Linked DNA regions of Homo sapiens: regions 1 and 2 are each linked to region 3. Evidence: promoter capture Hi-C in 16 types of primary human blood cells and fetal thymus (Javierre and others, 2016). All regions are on one chromosome and are shown on one strand. Each heading gives the region's core, a stretch centred on a gene start or on the middle of the fragment in contact. The rest is flanking DNA. Distances are from core to core; before and after follow the strand shown.

The links. Contacts are between HindIII fragments. The CHiCAGO score rates a contact against its expected background, and 5 or more counts as called.
Region 1: a contact is called between a fragment that was not itself captured here and the fragment with the promoter of PTF1A in region 3, in 1 of 17 cell types (M1 macrophages). The highest score is 6.0, in M1 macrophages.
Region 2: a contact is called between a fragment that was not itself captured here and the fragment with the promoter of PTF1A in region 3, in 1 of 17 cell types (M2 macrophages). The highest score is 5.6, in M2 macrophages.

What each region holds. Positions count from the first base shown.
Region 1 is chr10:24,202,540-24,205,463 of GRCh38, reverse strand. It overlaps a transcript of KIAA1217 not described here. Among named protein-coding and RNA genes, the nearest start is that of KIAA1217, 5.1 kb to the left of the region's middle. RefSeq lists an enhancer at 2,457-2,924. The HindIII fragment of the contact is 5,088 bases long and covers 1-2,924 here.
Region 2 is chr10:24,505,703-24,508,916 of GRCh38, reverse strand. The region is part of intron 9 of KIAA1217; the gene reads right to left. Among named protein-coding and RNA genes, the nearest start is that of ARHGAP21, 220 kb to the left of the region's middle. The HindIII fragment of the contact is 2,237 bases long and covers 581-2,817 here.
Region 3 is chr10:23,190,634-23,193,792 of GRCh38, reverse strand. It overlaps PTF1A (pancreas associated transcription factor 1a), which reads right to left and starts at 1,481. Exons shown (of 2, transcript NM_178161.3): 1 at 479-1,481; 2 at 1-89. The coding sequence starts at 1,262. The HindIII fragment of the contact is 14,718 bases long and covers 1-3,159 here.

The sequences.
Region 1 (2,924 bases), core at 134-2,633, 1.0 Mb before region 3:
TGCTCTTGTCGCCCAGGCTGGAGTGCAATGGCGCGATCTCGGCTCACTGCAACCTCTGCCTCGAGGGTTCAAGCAATTGTCCCGCTTCAGCATCCTGAGTAGCTGGGATTACAGGCATGTGCCACCACGCCTGGCTTTTTTTTTTTTTTTTTTTTTTTTTTGTATTTTTAGTAGAGACGGGGTTTCACCACATTGGCCAGGCTGGTCTCGAACTCCTGACCGCAGGTAATTCGCCCACCTTGGCTTCCCAAAGTAATCACGCTGGGATTACAGGCGTGAGCCACTGTGCCTGGCCTATGTAAGTTTTTCAACAGAGAAATCATTGCAAGAACCAAGAGTAAGTGGAATTGCCCTGATACATATTTAATATTTTTTCACTTTAAATCCTATTAAGAACCAGATAGTTGAAAATGACTTGACATCAGGACACAAAAGAAATAATTAATGCTTGCTGAAGTCCTTAAAATGTACTTTTCAAAGGCATTCATAACTGTGAGAGTCAATTAAAACAAAGTGAAAAACAAAGAAGTCAACAAAAGTGTTTCAACCAGAGGCCTCGTGTTTGATGTGTTCCACATTAACTGTTTCTAAAAGACAGGCTGCTATGGTATGAGGCCCTGTAAGTCAGAAATAAAGGATTTTTAACAACTGGGATAACATTTGCTTAAATGGATGATCTGGCGCATGTGAAATGTGGGCTCTCCAATCCTAGTTTTGACAGCAATGTGTCAGGTGGTTAGGGTGACCTTATACTTAGTATAAACCAGCATTTGTGAGAGGGAAAGTAGACACTATTAATAATTACAACTGGACAATAAGACACCACGACTGTCCCTGGCAAACCAGCACAGATGGCCACCTATGTGTGATCCCAAGATAAGCCCTCTGGGCGCCTTAGGTTTCCAAATGTGAGGGGAACATAATGATACTGTTTGAGTTTCCCAACAAAGACCCTATAAAAGAATCTGAAACAATAATTAAAAAATAATTAATCTTAAACAATAATTAGAGCAAAGGTGTGAGCCTCACACGGACCGTATTACAAGCCCCACTAACAAACAATTTCGCAGATTCCATAGTATAATACATTTCTATATGACTCATAGATCAAAACAGAATTTTCCCTTCTGCGTTAAGAGCAACAATTTCACCAGGTAACCTCCAGCATTCTCTCCAGAGGGTAACCAATCTTCCCTTACTTAAAGTCCTTAAAATTCCAGTGGCTCCAAGGAGATCCTGCCAGACAATAAGTGAGGTGCCCAGGAGCCCCTCGCCACCCACCAACACTCAAATCTCCCTATGAAATGTCTTGGAACTCTCCTGCTACTCCACACAAATTCCTCATGTGGTCATATGATGTGAAACTACACATAGATCCAATGTGTTAATACTTTAAGCATATTTGCTTTCTTTTTAAGAGAACCCATTGATGTTGGTTTTTATTATGGTTTCTTTTATCTATTTTAAGTTGGAAGATAGATGCTGGGCAGCAAAGACCCCGTGTGCACAGCACTGTGGCCAGAGCTGGCATCTGTGCAGCATACCGTCTTGAAAGCCCCGCTCAGCTCTGCCCTCTGGTCACTGCAGACAAAGTCTGGATTCCAGGTGGCAACTTATAAGTGAAAAGTGTAACATGTATCTGCTCACCCCTTTTATCCCAGAGGGAGCAAAACCATGGCATATTTCCCAGAGTTCCTGAAGGGCCAGGGTGGAATCCACGAGAATATGAGAGCTTCTACAGATACAAGCACCTGGGTTGCTACCTTGCTTTACCCACAGTGCCTCATTATCAACCCTTTCAATAGAGTATTTGGGGGAAAGAGACTCTCCTGGCTTATTTTCTGCCCTTGAGCTTCTCCTCTGCCATTTCTCAAAGCTGCAGTGACCTGTGGAGGTGGGGGTTGGGGGGTAGGGGGAGCAAGAAGGAAGGGGAACCAATCAAGTTGCCAAAACTAGGATCATGGAGTACACTTCTCCCTGTTTCCCCCACCAACATCCCCCAACTTTGCTGCTGAACAAACTGACTCCTGGAGCATTCTCGAACGTGTGGCTCTCATCTCTCCCATCTTTCTCGTCTCCAGGGTCCTGTTCAGCCTTTGCTCTGTTATACTTGATGAATACCTTAGGATCTTTTATCCTCTTTTTTCACTACTGAAGTCCAAGGCAATTGTCCAAGGCGACCCCTCAATCATCAATATTATTTTTATTATTTTGCTAGATGGAAATGAAGAATAAAAGGGGAGGTATCTCTCTTCTTCTTCTTTCTTTTTTTTTTTTTTGACAAGTTTTTACTCCACCACCCAGGCTAGATTGCAGTGGTATGATCACAGCTCACTGCTTCAACTTCTTGGGCTCAATCAATCCTCTACCCTCAGCCTCCCAAGTAGCTGGGACTACAGGCACACTCCACCATGCCTGGCTAATTTTATATTTTTTTGTAGACATTAGGTCTCACTATGTTGCTCAGGCTGGTCTTGAACTCCTGGGCTCAAACAATCCTCCAGCCCTGGCCTCACAAAGTGTTGAGATTACTGTCATGAGCCACTGCCCCTGGCCCGGTATACCTATTTTCTAAAATTCCTCTTCTTTCAACTATAGAATTGGGTCTGGTATTATTTGGGGGGCATTGCTGTAAGAGCCCTAAGGCATCATGCAGTTCGGCCATAGATATTTATCAAAGTCTCCCTGCAGCTGGGCGCCTGCTCTAGTCACTGAGACCTCTAGTCTGTAAGCTAAGACTGTGATGCCAGGGACCTCCCTGGGGGGCAGGGCTTCCAGGAGGATGAGGCCAAAGATGGAAACCACCCTCAGAGCAGAGGAGACGTGGAGCTGCTAGGATAGGGGAAAGCGCCTGTGAGGGGAGCTTGGGAGCAAGGGTGCAACCAGAGCACAGCCTTTGGGCAACGGTGCTCATGAAGGCTTGG
Region 2 (3,214 bases), core at 450-2,949, 1.3 Mb before region 3:
TTTTACAATCAATCCCCAAGCCCCAGCCCAAAGAAACCACCACTCTGCTTTCTGTCATTATAGATGAGTTCTTTGTGTTCTAGAACGTTATAAAAATGGAATTATATAACATGTGCTCCTTTGTGTCCAGCTTATTTTGTTCAGAATATGTTTTTCTGAGATCCAGCCCTGTTGCTGAGTTTTTCAGTGATTCATTCTTTTATTGCTAAGTGGCATTTCATTGTACAAATGGATATAACAAAATTTTAATATTTGTGTACATTGACTTGATTCTTGTGATCTTGCTCAAGTCACTTATTTCTAGTAGCATGTTTTGTAGATTCCATTTAATGTTACACATATATAATCATGTCATTTGTGAGTAAAGCCAATTAGACATTTTACATTTCGATTTGTGTGACTCTATTTCTTTCTCTAGCCATACTGAACTTGCTACAATCTTCAGTACAGTGTTAAACAGATGTCAGAGTAGGTTTCTTGGCCTTGCTCCTGATTTTATGGGGAATGTGTTTAGTGTTTCACCATTAACTATGTTTTCTGTAGGTCATTCACAAACATTGTTTATCAAGGTAAGGAAGCTTCCTTCTACTTCTAGAGCGCTGTTTTTATCATTGATGCTAAATTTTGTTACATGCTTTTTCTGCATTTATTGAAATACGATTTTTCTGTTAATAAGGTCAAATACGTTGATTTTTTTCGTATTAAAACAATCTTGCATTCCTGGAATAAAACCCCAGGATAATGTATTATTCTTTTTATATATTGCTGGATTCAGTTACTAACGTTTTGTTAAGGATTTGTTACATATATTTTCGTGAGGGATATTGGTTTGTGGTTTTCTTCCCTTATAATATTTTTGTCTGGTTTTGCTCTTAGGGTAATGCAGGCTTCATAAAATGAGTTAGGAAGTATTCTCTGTTTTCTGAAAGACTTTTCTTCCTTTCAATACTTTAAAGACGTCATTCCACTGTGTCCTGACTTGCCTTTTGTTTCTGATGAGAAGTTGGCATTAATTCTTAATTGTGATTCCTGTATGTAATGGGTTTTCTCTCCACCCCCAGCTGCTTTGAAGATTTTTCCATTTATCTCTGGTTTTTAGCAATTTGACTACCATGTGCTTTGGTGCAATTTCCATTGTGCTTACCATTCTAGGGGTTCACTGAGCTTTTTTGGTCTGTGGATTTACAGCTTTCATCAAATTTGGAAAAAATTCAGTCATTACCTTTTTGAATATTTTTCTCTTTCCACTTCATCTTTTATTAATATTGTCTCACTGGTCACTACATTTTAATTCATTTTCTTTAGTCTCTTGTCTCTCTATACTTCAGTTTGAACAGTTTCCATTGCTGTTTTTAGGGTGACTGACATTTTGGGCAGTGATTAATCTTCTGTTAAGCACATTTGGATATTGTTTTTCAGCTCTTGAAAGCTCCACTTGGATATTTTTTATATCTTCCATTTCTTTCCTCATTATGTTCATGTCTTCCTTTAAATCCTTGAGAATAATTATAATAGCTGTTTTGAAGTCCTTGCTGCTGATTTCATTATCCCTGCCATGTCTGGTTGGTTTCTCTTGACAAATTTTTCTTAATGTTATAGGTCACATTTGTCAGCATCATCACATGTCTAGTAATTTTTGAGTGGATATTGGGCATGGAGCTCTGAATTTTGTTGTTTTCCTTTACAGATTTTGGACTTTCTCTGGCAGACAGTCCAGTTACTTGTGGATCAGCTTTGTCCTTTAAAGGCTTATTTTTAAGCAGTTAGGTTAAATCAAGGGTAGTCTTTCCTCTGGGGCTAGTTTAGTCCTAAGACTGAGGCACAGTCCTTCTCCGATCTCTACAAAATGCCCAGGTGCTCAACAAGGCCTCTTCGCTTTTTGCTTTTCAAAACGTGAACATCTCCCAGGCCTGTGTGAACTTCGGGAACTTTTTGGCTTACAGCCCCCGACTTAGTTTCTGCCTGGCTTAGCGGTTGCTTTCACACTGTACATGCTTGGCTTAATATTTAATAACAGACCCATTTATTGATGTACTTCTTTCTCTGCAGAGCTTTCTTGTGTTTGGTTCTCCAGTCCACCAGTTCTAGCTGTTTCAGCTCTCTCTAAACTTTGGTCTTATCTCCTCAACTCACTGTCAGTGCCATGCTTGGGTTTTTCCTTCCTGCACCAAGATCTGAAAAGTGCCTCCAGACAGAAAGCTGGGTCAACTGTAGGTTTTTTCCCCCCATTCTCCTAAGGATTACGGTCCTGTGTTGTTTAATTTCTGAAAACATTTGTTTCATACATTTGCTTATTTTTCAGTTTTCTAGTTGCCCACAGTGGGAGGGCAAGTAGAGTTGCAGTTATTCCTCATAGCTAGAAAGATAATTTATTGAAAATGCTTTGCCATTTTTATAAGCACTCTTGTAAAATAAGAGACAGAAATAATGCTCTTGTCCATTAAAATTTTAATTGGACCAAATAAGTTATCCAAATCACTTCATGGAGAAACTAGCAAATGCCTAAACCTAATTCCCCCAACCTGAAAATGGACCTATATCTCACATACTCAATTTTGATTTCTTAGGTAAAATCTAAGACTATCAGTCTTGCCAACAATGGATAATGTAATTGGACTGATTTTGCTGTCTAGCAGTGACATGGAACAGTGGTTATACCACAAATCAGAAAGATTCAGGAGGAAAGCCAGACCTCAGAACGACTCCTGATCCCACCTGGATCTGTTCCTGCAGGCTTCAGGGAACAAGACAAGGGATGCCTGGTCACAGCTATATAACCCATGTTATTGGGGTGCTGTCTCCCCATCTTAGAAAGCTTCTTGTTGTCTGAAGATCTGACTAGACCTTGGCACATTGTAAGCAGCCTAATCGTCAAGCCCTGTACTAGTTCCGTTTATTATTTCTGCTTGGCAGGGGACACGGGTCTGTTGCACATGGGAAACTCCAATATGCTGTTCTCAGGGATCCGCATTCCCGTGACCATTGTTATGCATGTCAGAAGATAAATGAGACCCTGGCACATTTCCACGAGGCGCCATCTCATAAAAAGACACATTAAGGAAATTGTATTGAATTGTATCATTTCAAATACATAGGGCTCTATGCACTACTGTGTTTATTTTTTATGTTGATATTTTACCTCCTCCTTCTCTTGGGAAGGGACAGTAAATTCTCAGGAGTCCTACAAATGTAATGAACAACCCAATTTTTTATT
Region 3 (3,159 bases), core at 232-2,731:
TTCCTTGAGTTGTTTTTCATCAGTCCATGAGAGAGAGTGTCCTGCTAGGGGAGGGAGGCCATAATCAGGGTCGCTGGGGGAGGGGGACCCTGGACAGGTGAGAAGAGAAAACAGACTGTGAATATCCAACCACATTCCCATTGGTCCCATCAGGTCCTTTAGGACCCTTTCCTGGGTGCTCTCCGGTTATACTAGAACCACCCTCTTCCTCCACACTTCAAGTCCCCACCGTCCCCTCCCAGGAATCCGAGGAGCTGCAAGTCTGGCGGGGACGCGCGCCCTTGAGAGCCGCGGTCAACGTGGCAGAAAAATAAAAAAAAAAAAAAAAACGAGAAACGCGAGCTCGCATTCAAGTTTTTCCGTGCCCACCGACAATCCGTCGGTCCGACTGTCTGCTTGGCAGTCAGCTCCCCCAGCCCCTCCGGAGCCTTCGAGTGCCCGACCCCTTCTCCCTGAGCTGGGAAGCGGAAGCACTTACGGGTGCCCCGATGGCAGATGATGACCTTCTGGGCCTGGCTGCCCGGGCTGTCCCCGCCCAGGCGCCCGCCGCCGCCCGGCCCCCCGCAGCCGCCCGCGCCACCGCCGCGCAAGGGCAGGTCGGCCTGCACGAGCTCGCTGAGGAAGTTGATGTAGCCGATGGCCAGGCGCAGCGTGTCCACCTTGGAGAGGCGCTTCTCGTAGGGCAGCGTGGGGATGTGCGAGCGCAGCCCCTCGAAGGCGTCGTTGATGGACTGCATGCGCCGCCGCTCGCGCACGTTGGCCGCCTGCCGCAGCTGCTGCAGCTCCGCCTCGGAGCGCACCCGCCGCCGGCGCCGCGCCGCCGCAGCCGCCGCTCCGCTCAGGCCGCGCAGCCGCGCCCCGGGAGACAGTACTGCCGCCCCGGCGCACGGGTAGGCCAGGCACGAGGGCGGCGAGCCGGGCGAGTAGGGGAAGCCGCCTGGGGGCGCCCCCGTCTCGCAGCAGTAGCCGCCGCCGCCGCCGTCGTCTGGCTCACCGAGGCCCCCCGAGGACGGCGGGGCGAGCGCTAGCGGGGCGGCCGGGGGCGCGGGCTGCAGCAGCAGGCACGCCCCGTCGCGGTAGCAGTACTCGTGGAGCTGGTGGCTAAGGAACTCCACCTCGGCCTGCTCGTCCGCCAGCAGCTCATCGCCGTCCTCCAGGGGGTCCCGTGAAGACTGGTCGGTGAAGAAGTCGTCCTCGTCGAAGTACGAAGAAGGAAAGGCGTCTAGGCCCCCGGGGAAGTGCTCCAGCAACACCGCGTCCATGCTCGCCGCCGCAGTGGGCAGCGGGACTGCCGGGCTGCGCGTGTTAGTTCTTGGTGAGTTTCTAAGGCCCGTCCGAGCCCCTCCCTCCCGGGGCCCTGGCTGGGGGCAGCTAGGCGGCCGCCGGGCTGCCCGCCCCCGGGCCTCCCTGGAGTGCCCGCGGCCGCTGCGCTCTGGCCCGCGCTCGCGCTGCGCTGGGGAGGGCTGTGGCGGACTTCCTGGAGCTGAGGGCCGGCACGCGAGGATTCTTATAACAACATCCATAGGCGCGTGCCAGGGACCCATCGCGCCAGCCAATCAGAGCGCGGTGTGCCGGCGGCGAGGGGGCCCGGAGGCGCGGCGGTGGGCGGGGGTGGGGGGCGTTTTGCTCCCTTTGGGAGCTCCTGGGGCGAGGAAAAGGCGGGGTCGCGCGGCCCGGGGCTCCTCGCACCGCTCTCTTCCCTCTCCTCTGCCTCTGCATACTGGATTCTGTACCTGCCCCGCGTGCGGCTCCAGGGGCACCTGCGTCCCGCGGTGCCCGCTGCGTACCCGCGCGCGCTGAGCAGCGCCGGCTCCTTCCGCCCTGGGACTGGGGCAGCCGCGCGCCGCGTCTACACGCGGCCAGAGAAGTTCCTAGGGGTGCGCGCCGGTGGCCCAGACGGCGAGAGCGGAGCCCGCGCGGCGATCGTCCTCCTCCGCGGCAGCCTGGGCAATCTAAGGGTGCTGCCCTCAGGGACCAGGTGGGTGCATTCCGCCACCCCCTTATCCGAGGTGCGCGGGGCTCCGGCCTGGGTTCTGCTGGGGGCTTCTGTCCCATCTCTGGACTTTTCAAGGGCTTTTGCACAGTTTGCAGAGTATATGCGGGTGTCATTGGAAGGTGATCCGGGCCCACTCCCACTGCGTTCCAGACGCAACACGGGGGCTGGGAGCGCACCTATGGGACTCCGCTCTGGAGCCTGGCTGTGGTGCCTGGTGCGGGTCCCCAGCGACATCGGCTCAGTGGCTGCCTCCCCTGCCCTCCCCGGCCCGGAGAAAGGAATGGGGAGACGGGAGGGGCAGCCCCCAGAGCAGCTCAGCGGGGCGCGTTTCTTCTGAGAGCAAATCTAGACCCTAGGGATTCTGAGCAATAAACTGGATACAAAAGGAGTCCATTGAATCGTCTGCTCCGGCGCAGTCCGGAGGGAAGGCATTGAAGTTAAAGGGCAGAATGTGAATCGTTTTCAAAGCCCGAGTCTCTCACCTTTCCGACTGGCCACAGGGACCATCCCTGAATGACTTGTTTTTTTCTTTCTCGACCTTTCTTTTCTGAAAAAAAAAAAAAACACAAAACGTATGCAGCTCTGCCCCAAGACAGACTTTATCACAGACTGCGATGCAACGTGAATTCCTCTTTTTAAGAGCAACAAAGAAACACTTTCAAGGTCTGGGCAATTCCGGTTAAAAGCCAGGCTGCAGCTTCCACCCCGGGAGAGTTCAGAAGCGCAGCCATCGTGCGTATTCTCTCTACAGAGGACTGAAAGGAGTCGTCCTCCTGGGCCGCTTCCTTTTTCAGGCACTTGTCTCACTAGAGGCTTCTGTTGGGTATTCAGACGCCTCTCAAATTCCAAGTCATGCCTCTTCAGATTAGTGATTTAAATACGCTTCTTGGTTTTAGACATTGCACTGTAATTAACTGAATTGAGAACAAAGAGTTAAACCAAAAGATATATAAGGTTAGAAGGCCAGAGATTGCCTTACCTTGAACTGCCAACAACCCCAAACAATTTTAACCCAAGGACTGACTGGTTTTCAGTAGTTTTTTCCTGTGTTAGTTTCTCAGCCTTCACAGTGAAGGAGTCGTTCACTATTTGCATATCCTTAAAGGCAAATATGGACAGTTTCCCGGTGATAGAGCCTGAGCTGTGATTCTCTGCAATTAGAT